Regions from separate parts of the Homo sapiens genome. Here all the other regions are linked to region 5. The links are contacts of gene promoters, found by promoter capture Hi-C in blood cells and fetal thymus (Javierre and others, 2016). All regions are on one chromosome and are shown on one strand. The core of a region is centred on a gene start or on the middle of the fragment in contact, and the rest is flanking DNA. Distances in the headings are between cores, read along the strand shown.

What was found. The method cuts DNA at HindIII sites, captures the fragments that hold promoters and counts their contacts. A CHiCAGO score of 5 or more calls a contact.
Region 1: a contact is called between a fragment that was not itself captured here and the fragment with the promoter of DENND5B-AS1 in region 5, in 1 of 17 cell types (neutrophils). The highest score is 5.5, in neutrophils.
Region 2: a contact is called between a fragment that was not itself captured here and the fragment with the promoter of DENND5B-AS1 in region 5, in 6 of 17 cell types (neutrophils, total CD8 T cells, monocytes and 3 more). The highest score is 8.9, in neutrophils.
Region 3: a contact is called between a fragment that was not itself captured here and the fragment with the promoter of DENND5B-AS1 in region 5, in 7 of 17 cell types (activated CD4 T cells, total CD8 T cells, naive CD4 T cells and 4 more). The highest score is 8.0, in activated CD4 T cells.
Region 4: a contact is called between a fragment that was not itself captured here and the fragment with the promoter of DENND5B-AS1 in region 5, in 4 of 17 cell types (activated CD4 T cells, naive CD4 T cells, total CD8 T cells and 1 more). The highest score is 8.4, in activated CD4 T cells.
Region 6: a contact is called between a fragment that was not itself captured here and the fragment with the promoter of DENND5B-AS1 in region 5, in 1 of 17 cell types (neutrophils). The highest score is 5.2, in neutrophils.
Region 7: a contact is called between a fragment that was not itself captured here and the fragment with the promoter of DENND5B-AS1 in region 5, in 5 of 17 cell types (activated CD4 T cells, neutrophils, non-activated CD4 T cells and 2 more). The highest score is 7.6, in activated CD4 T cells.

The regions. Positions count from the first base shown.
Region 1 is chr12:32,184,647-32,187,346 of GRCh38, forward strand. All of the region lies in intron 1 of BICD1 (BICD cargo adaptor 1), which reads left to right. Among named protein-coding and RNA genes, the nearest start is that of BICD1-AS1, 79 kb to the left of the region's middle. The HindIII fragment of the contact is 860 bases long and covers 928-1,787 here.
Region 2 is chr12:32,290,465-32,293,164 of GRCh38, forward strand. The region is part of intron 2 of BICD1 (BICD cargo adaptor 1); the gene reads left to right. Among named protein-coding and RNA genes, the nearest start is that of FGD4, 110 kb to the right of the region's middle. The HindIII fragment of the contact is 2,456 bases long and covers 89-2,544 here.
Region 3 is chr12:32,321,838-32,324,537 of GRCh38, forward strand. All of the region lies in intron 4 of BICD1 (BICD cargo adaptor 1), which reads left to right. Among named protein-coding and RNA genes, the nearest start is that of FGD4, 76 kb to the right of the region's middle. The HindIII fragment of the contact is 639 bases long and covers 993-1,631 here.
Region 4 is chr12:32,339,019-32,341,731 of GRCh38, forward strand. All of the region lies in intron 8 of BICD1 (BICD cargo adaptor 1), which reads left to right. Among named protein-coding and RNA genes, the nearest start is that of FGD4, 59 kb to the right of the region's middle. The HindIII fragment of the contact is 736 bases long and covers 953-1,688 here.
Region 5 is chr12:31,588,520-31,591,219 of GRCh38, forward strand. It overlaps DENND5B-AS1 (DENND5B antisense RNA 1), which reads left to right and starts at 1,404. Exons shown (of 3, transcript NR_046909.1): 1 at 1,404-1,600. It overlaps DENND5B (DENN domain containing 5B), which reads right to left and starts at 2,617. Exons shown (of 21, transcript NM_144973.4): 1 at 2,187-2,617. The coding sequence starts at 2,313. RefSeq lists an enhancer at 1,138-1,217 and silencers at 1,648-1,987, 2,138-2,407, 2,478-2,700. The HindIII fragment of the contact is 7,998 bases long and covers 1-2,700 here.
Region 6 is chr12:32,141,422-32,144,121 of GRCh38, forward strand. All of the region lies in intron 1 of BICD1 (BICD cargo adaptor 1), which reads left to right. Among named protein-coding and RNA genes, the nearest start is that of BICD1-AS1, 35 kb to the left of the region's middle. The HindIII fragment of the contact is 2,033 bases long and covers 434-2,466 here.
Region 7 is chr12:32,376,381-32,379,080 of GRCh38, forward strand. It overlaps BICD1 (BICD cargo adaptor 1), which reads left to right. Exons shown (of 10, transcript NM_001714.4): 10 at 1,160-2,700. The coding sequence ends at 1,247. Among named protein-coding and RNA genes, the nearest start is that of FGD4, 22 kb to the right of the region's middle. The HindIII fragment of the contact is 3,960 bases long and covers 1-2,700 here.

The DNA.
Region 1 (2,700 bases), core at 108-2,607, 600 kb after region 5:
GGAACTTAAAGTGTTCAGAAAAACAAAGTGAGGATGGTAGGAATCCTTTCGCCTGAAACTTTGGAAAAAGGTGGATGAATTACAACTAAGTCATCTTTTAGCTTTGCTTTCTTGATCTTCCTTCAAAGTTTATGATACCTAAATTCTCTCTTCAACTCATAAAATGTGTTTTATGGTTTAATAGAAAAGCTATAAGCACATGACAAAATTAGTTCTTATTAGCTATATGCCTACAGAACCAATTTTGTGGTTTTCAATATGATATGTTCAATTCCAGAAGGTGTTTTATAAATCAGTTGGTAGGAACCTGTTTTATGTGTAAGCTGTGTCCAGATGGATGTTTCTTTACCCTTTTATGTACCTGGACCAATAGTACCAGAAACCATGGGAGCATAACCACCCCACAAGAACTCCACCCCTGCCACAGCCTTCACTATTTGGCAGGGGAAGCAGAGACTCTGCCATCTTCAAGCCACTGGTAGAGCCCCTTTCACATGACCTGGGAGGTAATTTCACAAGCAAAGAAGTCTAAAGGAAAGGTTGTACCTAATTTAAATTATTGCTTTTGTCATATTCTCTACCACTCACAGGAATGTTTTATTATTAATCACAAATCATAAGCAATTTATACTCTTGATTATTTCAAAAGAGCCACATCCACTGCTATGGTTTTGAAATTATTACATTATACATTATTAGTCAGCTTAGACTAAATTATGCTGTGGTAACAAACCCCAAAATTTCAAGGGCTTACAACAATAAAGGTTTGTCTTTCATGCTGTACATTCATTGCAGGTAACTAAGACACTATTCCATGTCACTGTCATTCTGAGATATGGGCTGAAGGAACATCCTCTCCCTGAGGCTTTGCTAGTGTTTCAGTAGACAGAAAAAGAACGCAATGGGAACACACACAATGGTTCTTAAAGCTTCAGCTTCAAAGCAGCACATGTCATGGCACTCACACTTTACAAAGCAAGTCAGACGGCTGCTCTGGGGACCTGCAGTCGTGCAGGAGAGGGGCTCCCAAATCAGACAGCCACTCCTGGCATCAATGACGCAGGGATCTATAGTCCTTTTATGCTGAGGGGTGGTGAATCCACCACAGTTAACAAAATCTTGAGACTTGCCATAAACAAATTCTCATCTGTTTGTGTGATGAGGTCCAGATGATGGCCCACTTCAGTAGCAAAGACAGTGCACTGTGCTCACCACGCCATTTCATCTTTTCCCTGGGTTGATAGGAAGATGGCCTTCTCAACCCCTTTGCATCTGTGTGGGGCCAGGAGACTAAACACCGCCAGTTGATTATGAGGAGGAATGACGTGTGGCACTTCCAGACCTAGCTCACAAACGTGGCAAAATCCACTCTCCCCCAACTCCTTGAGCCTGTCTCTCCAAATTGCTGCATAGAGGCAATGTTTCCAGGAGAACCTCACCTGGCCAGAAACATCTGCCTTGAACATGGTTAGAACAAATGAAACTTTTTTGTATTAAAACACTTGAGATTCTGTGGCTCTTCGTTACTGTGTTACCCTATCCTGACCTTGCTTTGTGGTTTATTTAATGATGCACATTTACTAGAGTGGTGTACATTCAATAGTGAGGTGGCCACATACAACATACCCCTAAAACATTGCTGAAAGTACACAGCCATTTCTACTATAAAAATATAAGTATATGAGTGAAGAACTGATTTTTGAATTTTGCTTTAATTAATTTAAATTTAAGTGGTCACATGTGGGTAGTGGCCACCGTATTGGACCACAGAACCTTAAGCAGTAGGAAGCTTTTTGCTACGTGATGTATTATAAATCTTTCCACTGTCTCAGCAATCTAAACATAAAACCAACATGTCTAAATTTCACACTTTCTAGATGATGAAGAGTCATAAAATGAACAGAAAGTCTTTATATGGTGTTTCAGGGGGACAGTTGTGACATTGGAGTGCTGGTCAAAGTTCTTTATTATTTTTTATTTGTTTCCAAATATGGAGTGCAGAAAACCAAATGGTGGAATGGACATTTTTGCCAAAGTATAATTGTGGTCTTTAATGATGTAAAATAAAATACCATATTCATTTCTGAATTTTTTTCATCGTGAAGTGTGTGAGATGTGACTTGACAACTTTGCAAATGTCGTGCCTCTGCTTAAATCTCTGCATTATATTTATGGAAATGTTTGAGATCCTGGAAACCATTTAGAGGTGTTATAAAATACTTTATTTCTTGAGGTCCAAAAGACTTCAAAATAGGGGCTGAGTGATATAATGGAAAGAACACTGGATTAGGAGCCAGAATATCTGGGTTATGTTGCCTGCTCTCTCACTAACTGGCTCAGTGAATTTGGGCAGGTTATTTGAACTCTCTGGATCTCGGTTTCTTCTATGGTGAGTTTATGGGCTTAGATTAATCACCCACCTCTAAAATTCCAGGTCTTTTCTTTTTTCTGACTTTAGGTCAGGTCTTTTCTTGTGAAGTATTAAAACTGAGCCCACCCATGTCAATATAACTTAACTCTTTGTTCCACGAAATTCGTGCCCAGGAAGATAAGACAGTAAATTAATAAATAAATTCACTGTTTGCTTTAGGAAAGTCTTGCAAATCAATTTATCAGGACAAACAGTTTGCTCATCTGGGCAAACAGTTGTCTTATTAAAACAATATATTGCTCACCTGGGCAAACAGCTTGACAAGTTTG
Region 2 (2,700 bases), core at 67-2,566, 700 kb after region 5:
GCAGTTCATGACTGTGAGGTGTCAAAGACTCTCTCCTTAACCAAGCTTCAGTCATGCTCTGCTAATGTCTCTTTTGGACCAGGCTTCAAGCTTGCTCCACCCCCAGCTTTGGCTTGCCCAGCCCAGCCTTAGCAAGGAATTCTGCTAAGTCATCTCCCAACCCTAGATATCTAATTACCCTTGATATCTGATCAAGTTCTTCATCCTCCACCTTTTTGATGTCTAAGTCCTTGGACTGCCTTTAGCAAGAGTCCTGTTAGGCCAGCTTAGCAAGAATTCCCCTGCCCTTGATGTGTTCTTTTAGCAATTTCCCATCCTTTGACATCCTCATGCTGTTCTTGGCTATAAATCTTCACTTGCTCTTGCTGTTTCAGAGTTGAGCCCCTTCTTTTCCCCCCTCCAATTGCAATGGTTTTGAATGAAGTCTTCCTTACCATTTTAACAAGTGTCAGAATAATTTTTTTAACATCTGTCTTTACACCACAGTCAACAACCCCTTATCCTCCCCAAAACTCTGAGCTAACGCCACTACTTAGAGATTACAGTGTCTGCCTATTTTATTAGCTGGAACTGCATCAGTGATTTTGGAGTTGAATTTTTCATTTTTTACATGAAAGATTATGTGTTTATAATTTGTTGTTTTCACATATGCATAAACAGAACTAGGAAGAGCTGTACTCAGGAGTCAAGTCAGAAGAAAAAACATCACCATGTTCAAATAGACAACTGAACATGCCTCTGAAAACCAGAGACAAAGGGAGTTATTTACAGTTAACATCTATAGAATATGGGCCGGGTGTAGTGGCTCACGCTTATAATCCCAGCACTTTGGGAGGCCAAAGCAGGAGGATTGCTTGAGCCCAGGCATTCGAGACCAGCTTAGGCAACATGGCGAGACCCCACCTCTATAAAAAATTTAAAAATTAGCTGGGCGTGATGGTGTGCATCTGTAGGCCCAGCTACTCAGGAGGCTGAGGTGGGAGGATCACTTAAGCCTGGGAGGTCAAGGCTACAATAAGCTGTGATTAAGGCACCTGGGCAACAGAGCAAGACCCTGCTTCTACCAAAAAAAAAAATATATATTAAATTTGTAGAAGTCTGGGCACAGTGGCTCACACCTGTAATCCCAGCACTTTGGGGGCTGAGGCAGAAGGATTGCCTTCACGAGTTTGAGACCAGCCTGGGCAACATAGTGAAATACCATCTCTACAAAAAATACAAAAATGAGCCAGTTGTGCTGGTGTACACCTGTAGTCCCAGCTACTTAGGAGGCTGAGGTGGGAGAATCACTTGAGCCTGGGAGGTCAAGACTGCAGTAAGCCGTGATCATGCCACTGCACTGTAGCATGGGTGACAGAGTGAGAACATGTCTTTAAAAAAAAAAAATCTGTGGACTATGAAGCAAGATGAGAGACATTTGAAAGCATATGTCGGAAAGTCAGGTATACTTCTAGAGCTGGCTCTCTGTTAGGATAGAGACCTTTAAAATGTTTCTAGTGCTTGCAGATGTCACCCTACCCTCCTGCAAAGATAACAGTGCATTTACTTCTGTCACTGTAGATTAGTTTTGCCCAGGTATTCTTTTCTTAGGGCTGCCGTAACAAAGTCTGGGTGGCTTTAAAACAACAGAAATTTATCGTCTCACAGTTCTGGAGGCCAAAAGTCAGAAATCATGGTGTCGGCAGGGCCATGCTCCCTCTGGCAGCTCTAGGGAAAGGCCTTTCCTTGCCCCTTCCTGGCTTCTGGTGTTTGCTGGCAATCCTTGATGTTCCTTGGCGTGTAGATGGGTCACTTCGGTCTTTGCCTCCATGGTCACGTGGCCATCTTTTCCCTGTGTTTCTTCACATAGTCTTCCCATCCCACATGCAGAAGTATGTGTCAGTTTCTGTGTGGCTGAATTTCCCCTTTTTATAAAGACAGCAGCCCTATCGGATTGGGCCTCCTCTAATGATCTCATTTTAATTTTTGCCTTTGTAAAGACCCTGGGAGTTAGGACTTCAACATGTCTTTTTTGGGAGACAATTGAACCTACATAGCATGTTTTTGAACTTTACATGCAGAATCATATTGTATGTAGTCTTTTGCATCTGGCTTATTTCAGTCAATATATTAGTGAGATTCATCTGTGTTGCAATAGCAGTTTCTATTCATTGTCAGTCCTACCTACCACTATATCAAGGCTCTGCAAATTATGGTGTGAAGGCCAAATGCATCATGACTTATTTTTTTCGCATATGGATATCTAGGTATTACATAAGAAAATGTGGTTTTTGGTTTCTATGATACTTCTTCCCATATTTCTCTTTGTTTGAATAGGAAACAAATCTAATTAATCCTTAATTAAAAGAAAACTTTTATATCCCATCTTTCCATGACTATGAATATGTTACATGTATAAATGTTTATATCTGTTATGTGGTCATTATACATTTTGAACTAAAACATAGCTTATACTTGCCATATAAGTTTATGGAAAAAGTTAAATATTTTACTTAATTGATTGATTTATATCCTGTAACTTTACACATAAGTCCTGGTAATACAAGCTTGTTGTTAAAAAAAAAATTGAAATGATCCAGAAGGACATAAAATCAAACGAATAGGCTCCTCTCCTTATCCCTGTGGCTTGCCCAGTCTAATTCTTTATAAGTCACCGCTATTGACAGTTTTCTGGATATTCTTACAAATATTTTTTCTGAC
Region 3 (2,700 bases), core at 62-2,561, 730 kb after region 5:
AAAATACAAAAATTAGCCAGGCGCAGTGGCAGACGCCTGTAATCCCAGCTACTTGGGAGACTGAGGCAGGAGAATCACTTGAACCTAGAAGGCGGAGGTTGCAGTGAGCCGAGATCACACCATTGCACTCCAGCCTGGGCGACAGAGTGAGACTCCGTCTCAAAAAAATAAAATAAATAAATAAATAAATAAAACAGTTTAAGCATCTGCTCTTTGAAATCCAAATACCATTTAAGGTACTCTAAGCCTTAATAGCTGAGTGAAAATACAGTGTTGGAGTTTTACAAAATTACCTGTATTTTAGTAATTTTTTTGTCAGGCCAAACTTAATTATCTGGGAGAAATATATATAGATAGATAGATATGATATATTTATATGTGTATAATATATATTTACATATGTGTGTAATATATATGTAATTTGGATACAATTTCCTATTCAATTGATTTCAGCAGAAACGTATTAAATATAGAAAGTAGTACTGTATAGCAGCAGTCCCCAACTTTTTTTGGACCAGTGATCTGTTTCATGGAAGACAATTTTTCCACAGATAGGGTGCGGGTGGTCTGGGGCCATTAGATCTCATAAGGAGCTTGCAACCTAGATCCCTCGCATGCGCAGTTCACAATAGGGTTCGCACTCCTATGGCAATCTGATGCTGCCACTCATCTGACAGGAGGCAGAGCTCAGGCGGTAATGTTTGCTCGCCTGCCACTCACCTCCTGCTGTGTGGCCTGGTTCCTAATAGGCCACAAACTGGTACTGGTCAGAGGCCTGGGAGTTGGGGACTCCTGTTGTGTAGGGAGGAAACACACATGCAAGAGACAGTGTTCTATTTGATGTTTTCTGGAGATGCTATCGTGAAGACACTGTAGACTTACCTTTTTAGGCTTAGAAAATGTTTATATTAAATCTCAACTGTCAGAGTCCAGATTGAAGGCTGTTCTAAAGGCATGACCTTATTCATCATAACACTTTTGCTGCTAAAACAAGCTTCAGACACATTCAGTACATTTTGTTTTGATCCAATATTTATTTGATCCAGAGGCCTTTCCTTTTGAAGGGCGTTTTGGAAACAGCCTTATCTGTAATCATGTGTACTAATTGAATAACGTTTACACTTTCCAGTGCAAATTTGCTTAATTTTCAAAGGAAAAAAGGAAAACAAAAACACTTCTGACATAATCAGTTTTCACTGAGATTGTATAGAATAGAGATTTTCCATCTCCTTTATGAAAAATTCAAATGACATGGCTATTCATGAAATACCATATTACATAATTACCAGGTTTTTCACTGAAAACTATTGCCCAAATAGTCTGGGTAAGCAAATTCATCATCACCTCTGGAGATACAGTCTGTTATAACTAATGAAATCCAGCTAAGATTTGTATTCAAATATTTCCTGACTCTAAAATGAAAGAGTTGCTTTTATAAAATTTTCAAAATTGTGAGAACAGATGTGTTTGCCATGTAAAAACATTTTGGTTGTGGGAGGTGGACCACAGCTAACCAATTGTTCACAATAGCTAACATTGTAGAACCTTCAGTATTAAATTCACTAACTCACTTCATCATCAAAATTCCCTATGAGGCGTTACTGTGCTCCTTGCATAGGTTACCAAACTGAAGCTTTCTCAGAGTCACATAGCTAAGTAAATGTTGGTCCCGAGATTTGACTCCAGTGTTCTCTGATGCCACAGGCCCAGTTCTTTACCTGCAGTACTATCATTTGGGAATAATTTGGTTTCTGCAGCCATAATATATAATTTGTGGGTTGCTTTCCTTTCATAGGTATGGACAAACACTATGTCATAAAATCAGAGCTACAACTTAAAAGCCTCTAAATAACACCTTGAGATAACAAAACTGTATCTTAGGTTCTAATATATGTGATCATACTATACAGGCAGTCCTTGGTTTGCATAGTAGTCTGGGACAGTAAAAAATGGTCATGCAAACTGAAACCATGCAAAACAAACTTAATAATTAATGGGGAAATTTACAATTGTTTTGTGATCTTTAAATATTTTTGTGAAACATTAAAAAGTCTCTTACTGTTGGTTATAAATATATATAGAAATGAAAATATAGTAAAACTACTTAGTACTTCATAATTTAAAACATTAGGAATATTGAGAGTTAACCTTTTATTTCTTTGTAAACAGCTTATCAAGAGTATTTTGATCTTGCCTTCCCATAAAGCTTAGGGCCGGGCGCGGTGGCTCACGCCTGTAATCCCAGCACTTTGGGAGGCCGAGGTGGGCAGATCACGAGGTCAGGAGTTCGAGACCAGCCGCCAGGCTGAAACCCCATTTCTACTAAAAACCCCATGGTGAAACCCCATTTCTACTAAAAATACAAAAATTAGCCAGGTGTGGTGGCGTGTGCCTGTAGTCCCAGCTGCTTAGGAGGCTGAGGCAGAAGAATCGCTTGAACCCGGGAGGCGGAGGTTGCAGTGAGCGTAAATCACACCACTGCACTTCAGCCTGGTGACAGAGCTAGACTCCATCTCAAAAAAAAAACAAAAAAAAAAACTTAGGACACTGAGCAAGAATCTTTTCTATGCTTTGGCAAATTGTCATCCTCATTTCTAAGTTTGGATCACCTTCCAACATTTTATCCTCTGCACTTTAAACATCTGGAAATATCTTTGTGAGTACCTTTAATGTGCCAGCATCACTTCCTCTTCGACATTT
Region 4 (2,713 bases), core at 71-2,570, 750 kb after region 5:
TAGTTGAATAGACTCTCCCCTTCCTTCCGGTCACTCAGGCTCACCCAGCTGCAGAGTATACCTTTGATGATGTGTAAATTCCTATAAGTCAAGTAAAAACTTCCTTACACTTAGCTTCCCATTTCCTCCTTCACTCATATTCCTTAGAATGACAGACTTCCATTTAACAGCCAAAGATGGCAAATGAGAGTTGGAAGGAATGGGATAGGTAAAGGGAAATTAGCAACAAGCACAACGCACACACACTTGGATCCTATTTGCAGTTTGGTAGCTCATGGCGATTCCATCTTGGTCAGATTTGGCCAGTTCTCTCTTATCGTTTTTAATGTAATTTCCGTAAAGGGAGAGCCATATGTATAACAAGGCTTTTGGGCTGATTTCCTTTTGTGGTGACTCAGAACGTCTCCTCAATCATTATATTGAGAATAAAAGTAAAACCTTCTAAGATTTTGCTCCTCAAGAACATTTAGGTCTTAGTATAATGTTCTTGTAGATTGCAGGCCCCCCACTGGTTAATGCTTACCAACATGTTCACACTTAGCTTCACTATTTTGCATTTTTCTTTCTTCCTTCCTTCCTTTCATTCTTTTTACTTGTTCTATGAAGAGGCCTAACTTGAAAATGTGACATATGGCAAATAGAGAAAATTATTCTTGCAAATAAAAATCATCCTTTTAAGGAATCCCTGCATGTGAGTATAGGGCAGAAGTGGCAAACAAGGAGCCCATAAACCAAAGTAAGCTTAAAGGCAGCTGTTATTTGACTATTGCCAGAAAATAAAAAATAAAACTATTTAAGTTAGTTATTGACAGTTAAAAATTCAAGAGATTTTATATGAACATCAGTATTTCTGGCCTCTTTTGGAAGATTCTGAATATCTGGCAGCCCTAGGTCTGCGTTCACGCATGTCAACACCTGTTGGAGCTCTGTAGTGGCTGCTGCTGTTAGGGCAAGCTTCGCACTTTGCCACAGTCACCACTCCTCCTTATTACTTATACCCAGCCTGCTATCCTCATTTCTATTCTCTCCTGGCCCCTCCTGTAGTCTTTGAGTTTGCCACCGTTGAAATAGAATTTTTTTTTTCATTTTACCTTAATTCCTTTTTGCAAACCTCAGCCTTTGGATCTCTAATACTTTCCTTATCTGATTCATGAAGTCAGCCTACTGATTGGGATTAAAAGATGTGGTGTAGAAACTGATAGTGCATTTCACGTTCTAAAGGTGTTTGAGGAAATTGGTAGTGATAATGAGTTGGAATGGTGTAATAGCCAAAATATACACCTAAGAAGAAAAAAAGTAAAAACTGCTTGGTGTTTTTAATTTCATAACTGATTTCCTATTGTTTTAGACCTCCTTGGAAGGTACCTTGAAGTATTCTGTGAATCACCAAAGTGGTAATGATTTATCAGGATACCTAACTCGGATAAAACCCACAAGTCTTCTTTTTAGTGTTCCAAATGGATTTAGTAGCACTATCTACTGGAACTTAGAAAAGAAATTGGTATGATTAATAAATAACTCCTATTGCTGTTTAATTAAAAAGATAACATCTCAATAAGGTTAAAAATTAATAATCAATGTTAACAACAATAACTGTTTTCATTTTTGTATGACTGGTTTTTGTTTACATGAATATATACTTTATATTGTTATCATTACATTGTTTAAGCCATGAACATTATATCACAAGCTTTTCCATGTTGCTATCTAGTCTTGTTTTTATTTGTTAAAGTTATTGTATCATAGATTTTGTTTCAGATGCTGTTATCACATTAATCACTACTTCTCTTCTTGTCCACTGAGGTAGTTTTTCATTATTTGTTATATTATAGAGCACTGCTGGGAATACCCTCATGCATTCAGCTTCTCATCTATTACATTTTTCTCAAGAGTGAGATCACTCAGTTAAAAGTTGAACATCCTTATGTTTTTTGCTCCATTCTGATGTTGCTGTCAAGAAGGGTATATCAATGTACTAAAAGCCCATAAAACACTTTCCCTTTTTCCCACATTGGGAATCTTTCTGCTACTTTATCCACACTGTGCACATCTTACAACTCTAAAGTCAGTTAGCATACATGAATGAGAGTACCATATATTGTCTTAAACTCTTTAGTTTTGAATAACCAGAAAATACCATTGACCTTAGAAATGATTACTATTTATGAGATTCGAGGCCGGCTGCAGTGGTTCACACCTGTAATCCCAGCACTTTGGGAGGCCAAGGCAGGTGAATCACTTGGGCTCAGGAGTTTTAGACCAGCCTTGGCAACATGGTGAAAACCCGTCTCTACAAAAATTAGCCAGGTGTGGTAGTGGGCACCTGTAGTCCCAGCTACTCAGGAGGCTAAAGTGGGATCCCTTGAGACAGGGAGGCGGAAGTTTCAGCGAACCGAGATCGCACCACTACACTCCAGCCTGGGTGACAGAGTGAGACACTGTCTCAAAAAAAAAAAAAAAATTAGAGATATAAGGAATGTGGAATTCAGAATAATCACCAGACCAGAAGGTCATGCTAATGACAGCTTAACATATTGATAACCTTTATAATTCTCACCATTTATGTAAAGTTAAAATAATAAAAGAGGAAAGGAAGTAAAGCTGTTATTATAGCCTTAGGAATTTTTAATTATGTATCGTGGAATCAACCAGATTAACGCTTAGTAAATTATTATCAAATCAATCTTAGCAACATTTTCTAAAAGGTCCTAGT
Region 5 (2,700 bases), core at 154-2,653:
CCTAAACAATACAGTATAACAACTATTTACATAACATTACAACGTAACAGGTATTGTAAGTAATCTAGAGATGACAAAGTGTACAGGAAAATGTTCATAGGTTATATACAAATGCTACAACATTTTATTATAAGAGACTTCAGCATCCGAGGATTTTGGTGTGGGGGACACTCTAGAATCCATCCCCCATGGTTACGGAGAGATGATTGTATTTTCATTATCTCTTTACACTAGAACGTATGCTCCATGATGGCAGGGATTTCTGACTGCTTTCTTCACAGCTGTCCCCAGTGCCTAAAAAACCGACTACAGATAGATGCTTTCAAAACTGTTGGATGAATGATACTGAAATATTACAAGGCAAAATACATTATTACCTGAATACATTAAATATTATGAGAAGCAGAAATCCCAATCACCCACACTCACACAGTTTTGCAAAAAGAGACATCATAGTTTGTTTCTTAAAAATGCATTAAAGTCTAATTGATGGTTTTGTTAACATCATTCTCTCTGTGCCTAAAGAGTCCTAGGTCACACCTAAAAGGTACAGTTTTAGCTTCAGTAGGCAAACGGAAAAGAAAAATACAGGCTTTTTTCCTTTCATTAGTCATCACTGACAGAAGGCCTCCAAGTGACCCTGGTGCCACAAATGTTTAGGATCTTTAGGGAAGAAAGGAGTCTAGAAAAATAACAATATTCCTTCACCAATCTCGAGAAGAATCTCTCCAAATCTCTCTGCAGACATTTTTTCTTCATATCCTTTAACAAAGCCATTCTTAACATGTACATGAAATCTTAGTTGAAGAAACAATGTGATTACATAATTACACATACGGAAAAACTTGGTATTCTATTATCTCTCCAAATTTTTTTTTAACTAAAACTAGACTTACAGTTTTTGTTGAAAATGTTTTGTGTTTCTACCTCCGAAGAATATGAAAAAAAGAAAATGTTTTGCTCTGAAGCTGAGTTAAGAAGAAGATAGCCAAGACGTGGGTTGATGGGGACTGTATTTTAAGGCTGAACAGTTTTGTTTACTATTGTTTATTATTTAATATATTCTTCCCAGTCTCCCCACCCCCACCAAAGGAAAAGCGAAAAATTTACGTTAGTGCAATCAATAAGGAATTATTTGTCCAAAGGAAGTTGTTCTGAAAGGCTATGACCTAAGTCTTTAACACAAAGTTCAGGCGGTAGATGTCACTTCTCTCACCCATTTAACAACAACAACAAATCAAGATTCAGATCCCGCGGAGGCAAGCAGAAAGGAACAGGCGTGAAAAATGAAATCAGTTGTTTCTCCCCGGCCTCCTCTCGACACTGCGCACTCCGCTGCCCTGCCCCCGCCCATCGCCCTTTAGCGGCCCCTTTTAACGGCGTCGTTTGCCCAGCACAGCCCCGCACTGCGCCATCAAATGAGTCAAGCGGAAGGACCGGTACCCCTCCGGGAAAACCAGGCACTAACACACGGTGCACCCAACTGAATTTAAACTCGGGAACAGTGTAGGCAGTGTCAACAAAGCGCGGTGCTGGGTCCCGAGCGTCCAAAGGTCCCTGCCAGCTCCCAGACGCGGCCAAATCCACAGGATTCCAAAAGGTGACTTGGCCGGCACCGCAGAGCGGCAGGCGGCGCAGAGGGCAGAGTCCGACCGGTCCCCGCCCCGCGCTCGCTCCGCACGGCCACCGGCTCCTCCGCGGACGCTACCCCGGCGGGAGCCGAGCTGAGTCCGACTCCCCGTCTCCCGAAGAGGCCCGAAAGCCGCGTCACGTGCGGGGCCGAAACTTCGCGGCCGGGGCCGGGTGGCTGGCGGGTGGGAGGCAGGCACGGCGGTCGGGGGGCAGCCCGCGCGCCCGGTGACTCACCGGCCGCCTCCGAGTGCGGCTGCAAGCGAAGGGGCCGGCGCGCCAGGCGGGGTCCGTGCCCTTGGGGCCACCCCCGCGCCTGTTATTAATAACCCAGCGCCTGGAGGCGAAAGCCCCGGTGGGCGCAGCCGCAAAGCCCGCACGCGGAATAAATAACAATGTCATTAAATCGCGCCCGAGCGCCAGTTCGGCCAGAAAGCGGCGGGAGGGCGCCACCGGGAGCTGACTTTGTCTGGAGCCTGCACCCCGCCTCCCGCGCGTCCCCACAGCGTCCCCCGCGCCCCTGAGGGGGCTCAGCGCCGCCGCAGCCCTGGCCTTACCCGCCAGCTCGTCAGGCTCCAGCCCGCTGTCCGCGTCGATCCCGCACAGCACGAAGTAGTGCGCGAAGCGGCAGGCGGCCGGGGAGGAGCCCGAGCCCGGGCCGGGCGCCGCGCAGCTCCCGCTCATCCCGGCCGCGCTGCTCCAGGGGCCGCCGCCGCCGCCGCCCGGGAAGGCTTTCTGCGGAGGCTGCCACCACCGCTCCGGCTGTGGTCTGTGCGCCCGCCCTAGGGCGACACTGGCGCGCCCATGGCCGCGCAGCCGCCTCTCGCCGCCGCAGCCTGCCTCCTCGCTCGGCGCGGGGGAAGCGGCCGCGGGCTCGCGCGCGGCGGGTCCGGAGCCCGGCCGGGTGGGGGAGGGGCGCGGGGGGAGTGTCGGCCTGAGAGGCCCTCGCAGCCGCAGCTGCGCTCGCGAGCTGAGAGCCGCCGCGTCTGGCGCCCGCGGGTCAGCTGAGCGGCGCTCGGGCTGTGGGAGCGCGGGGCGGGCGGGGGCGCCGGGGCTCGGCGCGTGCGACGG
Region 6 (2,700 bases), core at 200-2,699, 550 kb after region 5:
TCTAATGCCCCATGAGAAATCTGATTTAGAGGCCCTTCCTTTGGACACACTTTTTGTTTTGTTTTGTTTTTGAGCGGAGTCTTGCTCTGTCGCCCAGGCTGGAGTGCAGTGGTGCAATCTCGGCTCACTGCACCCTCCACCTCCTGGGTTCAAGCGATTCTCCTGCCTCAGCCTCCCGAGTAGCTCGGAGTACAGGCGCCCGCCACTACGCCCAGCTAATTTTTCTATTTTTAGTAGAGGTGGGGTTTCACCATGTTGGCCAGGCTGGTCTCAAACCCCTAACCTTAAATGATCCATCCGCCTCAGCCTCCCAAAGTGCTGGGATTACAGGCGTGAGCCACCGCGCCTGGCCTGGACACCCATTTTGAATAGCACTTACCACAGATTCCCGAAGCCAGTGGTTTTCTAGCCTTTTTATTCGCCGTTCGTTGTAAGCTTCTTGAGTCTTGGTGATTCTTGTTTCATTTGTTTTTGTTTCTCCCCAGAGCCTAGCACATAGTAGGTGACGAACAAATGTTCATCGAATGTATGGGCTCAACCATAGTCTATTTTTTTCAAAAAGGTATAAATCTTATCAATGTTTTACATTTTGCTGAACAAAACAGGAGAGAGCGGATTCTTTTCAAATAGGAAAAATTAGGGAGGGAAAAGAGGGATTGACTGAAACTCTATTGAAGTATGTCAACATAAAAGTTTATTGACAGCCTGGCGTGATGGCTCAGGCCTGTAATCCCAGCACTTTAGGAGGCCAAGGTGGGCGGGTCACTAGAGGTCAGGAGTTCGAGACCAGCCTGGCCAACATGGTGAAACCCCGTCTCTATTAAAAATACAAAAATTAGCCAGGTGTGGTGGCAGGCGCCTGTACTCTGAGCTACTGGGGAGGCTGAGACAGGAGAATCGCTTGAACCTGGGAGGCAGAGGTTGCAGTGAGCTGAGATCGTGTCACCACACTTCCAGCCTGGGCAAAAGAGTGAGACTCTGTCTAAAAAAAAAAAAAAAAAAAAAAAAAACAAAAAACCCCACCTATCTATCCTATCTATCTATCTATCTATCTATCTATCTATCTATTGGTCTATCTATCTAGATAAAAATAGCAGTCAACTAATTTTTCAAATTAAAAATGCTTTATTGTTATTTATAGCATGATTGTTTTTCTATAAAAAAGGCATATTACAACAGCCTTCGCTTCACATCTGACTCTTGCAGCATTCTTATAAAGAGATCTCACACCATATTTGAGGGCTTCATTAGTTTTCTAAGCCTTAAAAAAATTTCATCATTAAGATTATTCTCTCATGAAGCACCCAAAATATAGACAGCTTTTCTTATTTTCTTTTCTTCAATTGTTGACAGTCTAATGCTGCCAGATCTTTATCTGTCAGGGACTTTTGATGTTGTTGGAGCCATCTCTTGTGGACTTTATGAAATCTTGCATGCAGCACAATTTGAAACTTCATTGTGCATTCAATTTGCATTGCCTTTGCTGTGTTCACAGTGGCACTCCATGAGGCTTAACTATGGAGATCCTGGTGCTACAAGCCGTTAAATAGTTCTCTCTTCTCAACCTATTCCCCTATCCTGCTTTTCTTTTCTTCATAGCACTTATTACCTCCTGATTATATTTTTTGTTTGCCTTTTGTCTATCACCTGTCATTCTTTTACCAGACCATCTAGTCTCATATGTCTATATAACCTTTCTGAAAAACATCCTGTGGGAAATATACCATATATACAGAAAAAGTGCACAAACATGAATATACAGTTTAACAAATAATATAAACCTGCTATTCATGTAGCCACCACCCAGATGAAGGAAATAGAATATCATAAGCACCGCACAATCTCCATTTGTGCCCTTCTCCATCGTAGCTTTCTCTGTCCCAGACAACCATTGTCCACAACTTGTTGTAATAATTTACTTAATTTTCTTTTATAGTTTTATCACACATAATTTAGTTTTTGTCTGCTTTTTGAACTTTACATGAATGGAATAATATTGCATATATTATTTAATGCTTTTTCTTTCATTTAACATTTTTTTTTGTGTGTGTGTGAGATTCTCCAGGTTGTTGTACACAGTGCTAGTTATTTCATTTTGTTATGGTATAGTATCCCATTGTATGATTGTACCACAGTTTATCCATTTTTTAGTTGATGGGTTTTGACTTGCTTTCATTGTTTGGGCTATTATGAATAGTGCTGCTCTGCACCTGTTGTACATATAGCCTGGTGAACATGTTTGCGAATTTCTATGAGCGTGATCACGGTGGTGTAGAATTGCCAATCTTCAACCTGCCTGTATTTTCCAAAGCGATCATACCAATTTATTTACCTTCCAGCAGTGTATGAGAATTCTCTATTCTCACCATCATTGGATATTGTCAGATTTTAACATTTGGCTCAACTGATGGGTGTATAATGGTATCCTATGGTACTTATAATTTGCATTATCCCTAGTTACTAATAAGCTTGAGCAATTTTTCATATTTTTATTTCGATTTCCTAATTTATGAAATGCCTGTTTAAGTCTTCAGCCATTTCAAATGTTACCTGTCTTTTCAAAATGATCTATAGGAGTTCTTTGTATAATATATATTCTGGCCCCTAGTCCTTTATTCTTTGTATGTGTTGCAAATATCTTCATCTCTGCAGTTTACTCTTTTTGTGGTGTCCTTTGATAAAATTCTCAATTTGGTGAAT
Region 7 (2,700 bases), core at 24-2,523, 790 kb after region 5:
CCGGCCGCTAGTCAAATTTTAAAAGGCCCAAACCCAAATGTGTTTTGTCATTTTACCCTAGGAAACTCAATGATTTTGCTTCTTTATTCTTCAAGATTATTCATCCAGACCCTGATAGGCCTGAGCACAGGTTCATTTAAACTAGAGGCTATCACAGGCGTCGTTTGGAAAGTTACATTATACACTTAACAAATGGGAAATGTTAGGCTGGGCTCGGTGGCTCACGCCTGTAATCCCAACACTTGGGGAGGCCGAGGCAGGTGGATCACCAGAGGTCAGGAGTTCGAGACCAGCCTGGCCAACATAGCAAAACCCCATCACTACTGAAAATACAAAAATTGGCAGGGCATGGTAGTGCATGCATGTAATCCCAGCTGCTCGGGAGGCTGAGGCAGGAGAATCGCTTGAACTCGGGAGGCGGAGGCTGCAGTGAGCTGAGATGGAGCCACTGCACACCAGCCTGGGCAAAACAACGAGACTCCATCTAAAAAAAAAAGGGGGGGGGGGGTGAAATATAAAACTCTTCCTTATACCTCCAAGCCCAAGCAGGTAGGGGGAATTCTTAGAGCAAATTAGACTTCCACAGGCAAATTCTTTATCCTAGTGAATCTGGATCTACCAGATAACTATAGAATCCTCTAAACTCCAAAGCCTTGGTCAACCTGTCAGTACCATCAGCATCACTGGGAGCTCATTAAAAATGTAGAATCTCAGATCTCACCCCACACCTAATGAATCCGAATCTGCCCTTTATACTGAGCTCCCCAGGTAATTTGCATGCATATTAAAGTTTGAAAAGAACTGATCTCATGAAATCTTACAGCTAACACAGAGACCTAGGAGAACAAGACCGTGCAAAAATTGAGAAGAACTTCTGTAAAATGCTGGGGGCAAGAAAATAGGGAAAACAAGAAAAGAGAAGAGTGACTTTGAGGGAAGAGTGCATATATCATTTCCTTAATACATTTCATTTTTCTTTTTTATGCCTTGTTTTGAAAAGCTACCATTATCTTGGCATGCTTTAGATGGAAACCATTTACTGTGCAGATTTCTGTTCTTGTTCTCAAAATCTATGCAAAAATATCTCGTCTAACCCCTACCATTGTGCCTGGCCCTTTGAAATGTGTTTCTTGCTGACGTGCTTGTTTCTCCTTTCCAGTCCTGACACAGCTCTCCCTGAGGAGCAGCCACATTCCAGCTCCCAGTGCGCCCCTCTCCACTGTCTCTCCAAGCCTCCTCACCCCTAGTCTTCATCTCCTGTGGACGAACATCTGGGGTGGAAGTTTTGTAGCCACACACAGGATACTGCCCAAGATCCAGCGGGTGTTTTCTTCTCGGTTGTTAGATGTACAATTGGATTAATGTCCATCGTTTTGGAAGACGAGAGAAAGTTGAGAAGAACACGAAGCACAGACCCTGATGTGATAAAACATTTTGTGGTTTCTCTGAGTCACAGATAAACTTCTGCCATCAAATGGCTACAGTTCATTTAAATTTAAAAAAAAGAAAAAAGAAACAGAAAACGTGTCTCAGATGGCTGGCTTTACCTCGATAGCATAAGAGAGACCTAAGACATGTAAAATACGTATATTGCAGTATCATCTTTCCTCACACTCCAAATTCAGCTAGGGAAGTTGATTCCAATATGTTTGTCATTGATATTTATTTTGTACTTTATTTGCTACATGATTTATGTCTATACAAATAATTTCTCTGAGGTGAATTTAATTCATTTATTTTCAAATAAGCATAATTTGCTCAATTAAGTATGAGTTTGAATTTAGTTTGAAATCTGGAATTGGCCAGACTGTGGTCATTTTTCTTGCACAAAATGATAAATGAGGTGCATCAGAATGTTAACAATAACTGTATTTTGCTGCTACGCTGGTATTGTTTAGGCACTTACTTTCTAATCAGTAGCTCATTAACTGCTGGGTTTTGTTTTTGTATTTTTAACTAGAGTTCTTCACTGGACATTACTAAGTAAATCTAAGAAAGAGACTAAGTTATGATTTATTGACTTATTCAAGTTTTGATGGCATCTTTACTTTTATTTTTTCATTGCAGTTGAGTAGATGTACTGGTGCTGCTCCTTTGTATGTGTGTATGTGTGTGATAACGTTAAAGAAGGCTCAATAACTTGAAGGGAAAAAAATGGTGTGTTTATTTAATGACCAGAATTTTTTTTACTTCTCCCAAAATCAGGGTCCTACTGAGTCTTTCCTGATAAAAGGTATCAAGTACAAATGGGAAAATATATACATATATAGATGTAAGATAGCCTTTAATTAATTAATTTACCCAGAGAGTGTTCAAAGTTTGATTAAAATTGTATGTTTTGTTGTTGTTAGTTTTTTTCATAACGAATCTTCCTTGCCAAAAAAACAATAGATAATAAACCTTAGCTCATTGTCTACTTTTGACAAACACTCAGGTGCCTACAAACATTCTATTATCTTGAGATAATACATGTTCCTGGTTAATTTACAGATTCTGCTGGGTAACTTTTATGACTTGATTTAAGGCAGTGGATTTTCATAGCAAAATTTATTTTGCACATAATCTGACAAACAAGGAAAACAGCTAACTGAGCTGAAAGGTCTAACACTCTCGGGCTCCTTAACCATCAAGTGCTGCCCACACAATTGCTCCTAGCCCTGATTCCTTGTCTTTGTCAGGTAGCCTTAACTTATTTAAAAC